Regions from separate parts of the Homo sapiens genome. Here region 2 is linked to region 1. The links are contacts of gene promoters, found by promoter capture Hi-C in human tissues and cell types (Jung and others, 2019). All regions are on one chromosome and are shown on one strand. Each heading gives the region's core, a stretch centred on a gene start or on the middle of the fragment in contact. The rest is flanking DNA. Distances are from core to core; before and after follow the strand shown.

Evidence for each region. Contacts are between HindIII fragments. The study calls those that stand out against the background at their distance.
Region 2: the fragment with the promoter of HCAR1 here is called in contact with the fragment with the promoter of CLIP1 in region 1 in 1 of the 25 tissues and cell types used here (lymphoblastoid cells).

What each region holds. Positions count from the first base shown.
Region 1 is chr12:122,421,293-122,423,992 of GRCh38, forward strand. It overlaps CLIP1 (CAP-Gly domain containing linker protein 1), which reads right to left and starts at 1,377. Exons shown (of 26, transcript NM_001247997.2): 1 at 1,229-1,377. RefSeq lists silencers at 674-1,073, 1,094-1,443 and an enhancer at 2,553-2,652. The HindIII fragment of the contact is 23,258 bases long and covers 1-2,700 here.
Region 2 is chr12:122,729,483-122,732,182 of GRCh38, forward strand. HCAR1 (hydroxycarboxylic acid receptor 1) reads right to left here and starts at 1,362. Exons shown (of 1, transcript NM_032554.4): 1 at 1-1,362. The coding sequence starts at 857. RefSeq lists an enhancer at 124-791. The HindIII fragment of the contact is 12,382 bases long and covers 1-2,700 here.

The sequences.
Region 1 (2,700 bases), core at 127-2,626:
GCGACATGCCTGGGGATTCTTGCTAAAGGTTATCATTAAATCTAAAAGTCAAACAAACACATTCCTGACTCTGGGATACTCTCCTGATTCGTGGATACCATCGCTAACAGTAGTGACACAAATCAAATAATAAGAACAGCCAGAATCATAACCCTAATGACAGCAGTGGCCACAGCACTTAATACTTATAGAGCTGCTAGGGGCCACTGTCCTAAAAGAGGAAGAAGGCCAGGCTGCTGAATCACACACACACAATTACAGAATCTTCTCCACCCTTTGTTTTAAAAAACAGTTCACTGGCGCCCAAGTTTTGCTAAAAACAGGTATCTAAACCGATGACGGACAACGTGTAATTTCTTCATACCAAAGAGGTGGGGCTGTGCAGGGAGGAGGGGGTGGCGCTCGGCTCCTGCCAGATGGAAAAGCCACATGAAGTGGAGAAACAGCCGGATTCAGGATTCACCCCCGAATCAAAACCCGATTTTTGAAAGGCAGGACCTTCCAATTCGGGCAATCGCTAGGTTCTGCTTGTAAAATAACCTCTGAACAAGTGTCATCTGCCTTCCGCGCCAATCCCCTGCCGCGGTAGAAGGTTCGGATTACCGGGCAGCGGTGTGATTTCGGAAACCCGAGAGCGATCTGGCCACCTCCAGCCTTCCCCGGTCTCCGAGAATCACAGCCCCACTTGAGAGGAAAACAAAAGCCGGGGCAGCGGGGGAGGCCGGGCCAGGGTGCCCTCCATGCCGGATCGCGGGCGCCGGGCACCCGGGGCCTGAGGAATGCTCAGGTGACAGGCGCGGCGCCCGGGGCAACAGGTCCCGCCCGGCTTCGGCCTCCCGGGGTCCGGCCGATCCCACATCCGCCCCGGGGCCCAGGAGAGGGAGCGGGGCGCCAGGGAGAGAGCGGCGCCTGGGGCGGCGCAGGGGCAAGGAGTCCAAGCTCCATCTTGAGGCGGGCGGAGGAAGCGAAGGCCCGGCTCGGCGCTGACAGGGCCGCCACTTTTCCAGCTCCGGAGGAGCCCCCCAGGGACCCCCGGCCTCCGGCGCCGGCCACCCGAGACTCCCGCGGTCCCCTCCCGGACGGCTCCGGCGCGCGAGGCTCGGCCCCGCTCCCGGACGCCGGGCTTCGACCCCCGACCCGACCCTGGGCGGGCCCCGCAGGCCGGGAAGCCGGCAGGGGAGCAGGGGGTGCCGGGAAAGGGAGAGGGCCCGCGCCGCCCCCTGCTCACCTCCTCGGACGCCGCCGGTCGCCGCCACCTGTCCCACTGCAGCAGCAGCAGCCGCCGCGGCCGCCGCCTCCCGCCTCCCGGCTCGTCGGCTCGGGGCGGGGGAGAGCGTGACGCGCCGCCGCCGCCGCGGGGCCGGGCGGGCGCGCGCTGCCAGGAGAAGACGCCGCGCGGCTCCTCCCAGCGCTCCGCCGCCGCGCCCGCCCGGCCGGCCCGGCCGGCCCGGCCCCTCGAGTCCGCACCGGCCCTGCGGCCCGCGCCCGGCCCCGCGCCGCCCCGCCGCCTCTTTGTCTGCGCCCACCGCGGCCCCGGGAGGACCCTGGCCCCGGCGCGCCCGCCGCTCCGCCCTCGAACCCTCCCGAGCCCCGGCTTGGGGAGCAAGGTGCGAGGGAAAACCCACAGGCCTGCTCCGAGGGGCTTCTCGTCATTTCTGCAAAGTGTTCCCAGAATTTGCAAGTCACACCCAAGAGCCCCATTCAGCCTCGACCTCAGCCCGCTCTTTGGGGCTGATTCATTTGTTTGCCCTCCCCTTCCCGCCAGACAAGGGTGAGAAATCCTTTGAAACAGGCTGCAAGGCGCTTCCGAAGCAGGTTAAGTTGGGGATTGGGAAGGATCATCTCTGCCCTCGCCTCCCTCCAGGGAAAGACCCTGGATGAGGCGTCCCTGGAGAAAATGCTGAAAGGAACTGTAGAGCAGGTTAAGCTTGGGAAGAACTGTATCTGCTCCCCACTTCCCTCCGGGAACGACCGCGGGTTAAAAATCCTTTGAAACGATCCCAGGGTTTGCTCCGTTCGTTTGAGAAAAGCCCCTTTTATTCGCCCTGGCTGCTTGGACGGAAGCCCTGGTTAGTGTCCCATCCTCCTTCCCCCCTGGGATTTCCTTTAAAAGCTTTTGAAAGGGACAGGAGGGAAGGCTGCAACAGCCTGCTCGGGGCTGGGGTAGCAGAGGGCGGCCAGCATTTCACTCCCATGGACCATGGCAACCCCAGAAGCCTTACATCTCCAGGGAGGAATTTGCAGCTGTCGGGGAAGCCCAGGATTTTGTGGTGGATAAGGGGGCAGGGGCTTCCTCCTCCTTGCCAGTAGAAGAGAATAATCGGCGGGTGACCCCTCTAGCTGACCTTTATTCAAAGCACCGTGCTGCCTGGACCAGCAGGAAGAGGGAACTGCTCTGGTAATGCACGAAGTTCTGAACTATGTAAATTTGTCTCCTGGCCCCTCCTCTCCATTCATGTCTGAAATCCCTCGAAATGCTGTTACCTAATTCAACATCGCCCTAATTTACAGGCTGCAAGGTCAGGTGGTGGTGGTACTCCTGAAATCCCATATCCATATTCCTAATCTGAAAGGCGCGCCTCACCCCCTAATCTAAACAGTCTTCAGCTGTAATCAGCAAGCTGTGGAATCATAGATGTCATAGGATGAGGCACAGACCACTTCTAATGGGGGAGTTCAGCTAGGAACACTTATGGGCTT
Region 2 (2,700 bases), core at 112-2,611, 310 kb after region 1:
GGAAAGGAGGGGCTTGAAAAATAATACACCAGGGGATCCAGCATGCTGTTCATGTAGGTGAAGCTGAGGGTTATGTGCAGGGCCCCATGGACAGAGGGATCGCAGGCACTCGAGGGCACCGTCCAGAGGAAATAGAGTCTAGCAGACACGCTGGGCAGGTAGCATGTGATGAACACAATTGCCACCACCATGATGAACCGGGTCGCCTTCTTCATCCGAGCCTGTCTGGCCAGCTGCTGCCTCCGCCTCAGGCTCCAAACAATCTTGAAGGAGCAAAATAAGATGATGCCGAGGGGCATAAAGAACTCCAGCTGGAACATGATGTCATGCCAGCCATTGGCCGACTCCATGATGAAGCTCTCACAGGAGACGGCCGTCTCTTGCACGCAGAGATGGTTCTCCAGCAAAAGATACACTGTTCCCAGGATGACCAGGGCCCACAGGGTGCAGACGATGCCAGCCGCCACCCGGGTGGAGATAGTGTTCACCGCGTGGTGGGGGTGGACCACTTTGAAATACCTGTCCGCAGCCACCACCGTAAGGAACACGATGCTCCCGGCCCTGTTCATGGCCAACGTGAAGAGCCCCACTCGGCAGGGAATGTCCCCAAAAGCCCAGTGTCTACGTCTGAGGTAATAGTCTGTCCGAAAAGGCAGGCAGATCATAAGGAGGAAATCAGCCACGGCCAAATTGAAAAGGTAAACAGTGCTGGGCTTCCAGGTCTTCATGTGGAAGCAGAAACCACACAGGGCGACCCCATTGCCTAGTGCGCCCAGCACAAAGGCCACAATGAGCAGCGGCGGCATCACCTGGGAGATGGTGTCCCCCTCGATGCGGCAGCACGACCCGTTGTACATGGCGGGGACAGAGCAAGTGTCCGGGTGCAGAGCAGCCCAGGGAGTCCCCACAATGGCACAGATGCTTATCTGAGCGTTAGCACTCACCCAGCTGCTGCGTGTCTGACTTCATCACCCAGGATGCGGGTCCTGTGTGTGTGGGTTGGATGCTGCCACAGCAGCGAGAAGAGAAACTTCAGCCAGGAAATGAGAGACCCAGGGAGGTCCTTTCTCTGGAGCCCGTCTCACAAGCCGCCTGCCTCTGGGAGAGGCCAAGCCTGGAGCCGGATGAAGCTTGGAAATGCATGCAATTTTGCAAAAGTGGTCATTTCTGAGAGGCGGTAGGGTGGGGGGGTCCGATGAGATTGATGCCGTAGAGGAGCGATTGGGTCCAGCGCCAGAGTAATTTTCATTTTCAGCTTCGCTGTTCCTCCTCGGACTCCGTGCTGGAGAGCACACAAAGCTGCCCAGAAGGCAAGAAGAAAGCTTGTTTGTCCTCCCTCCTGGTGGAGAAATCCAAACATTTCCTGGAGTGGTTCTGGGCTCCTGCCTTTGCTTTCCTCCCGTAACCTTTGCCTGACTGCCTTGTCCTCTCCCTCATCCCACGGGGCACTCCCATGCGGTGCCAGAGAGGGGAGGCTTTGCTCTGCAGCTCCTCCGGGCCATTTCCTGTGCCGAAAAATACCGCGCTCAAAAATTGGAGGAGTCTGCGGAGAGAAAAGTTCTAATCACGATACTTGATGGATGTTAGAAAAATTCTTTGACGGGAGTCACCTTTCCCCCGCTCTATTCCCACCTCCCTGCCCTTTACATCCTTCCGTGAACCAAAGTGGCCAGTTGCACAACCACCAAGACCATGAAATAGATCTGAAGCCCACTTCTCATATGTCTGTCTCCACAAAACGGCCTCTTTGGGAGCCGGTTTCCCCCTCTGCTGGGAAGCAGAGCCTAGAACTTTTACAAAGATTTGGCCCTGAGTTTCCATTGGCTGTTGAATGAGCCAAACACCATGAGATGTACGTTTTTAATTTCAATTATGTGCTGAGCCCATCAATTAAAACTGCCCCCTGGGGGCGGAAGAGGATTGGAGGAGTTGATTAAGGAGTCCATCTCTAAAGCAATCATGAGTAACATTAGACTGCACAAAAAATTGGAGTCTTTGCTAAAATTTCCTGTCCTTTGGCTTTAAGGATTATTAATCTGCCCTGTGCCTTTCAGCTTCCAGTTTAGAAAATGGGGTGGAGGCCGGGCGCGGTGGCTCACGCTTGTAATCCAAGCACTTTGGTAGGCCCAGGCGGGCGGATCACCAGGTCAGGAGATGGAGACCATCCTGGCTAACACGGTAAAACCCCGTCTCTACTAAAAATACAAAAAAATGAGCCAGGCGTGGTGGCGGGCGCCTGTAGTCCCAGCTACTCGGGAGGCTGAGGCAGGAGAATGGCGTGAACCCGGGAGGCAGAGCTTGCAGGGAGCCAAGATTGCGCCACTGCACTCCAGTCTGGGTGACAGAACCAGACTCCGTCTAAAACAAACAAACAAACAAACAAACAAAACAACAAGAAAAAGAAAAAGAAAAAAGAAAGAAAGAAGAAAATGGGGTGGAGGCCAGTCGCGGTGGCTCACATCTATAATCCCAGCACTTTGGGAGGCCGAGGCAGGTGGATGACTTGAGGTCAGGAGTACAAGACCAGCCTTGCCAACATGGTGAAACCCCATCTCTACTAAAAATATACAAAAATCAGTCAGGTGTTGTGGCATGTGTCTGTAATCCCAGTTACTCAGGAGGCTGAGGCAGGAGAATCACTTGAACCCGGGAGGTGGAGGTTGCAGTGAGCCGAGATCGTGCCAATGAACTCCAGCCTGG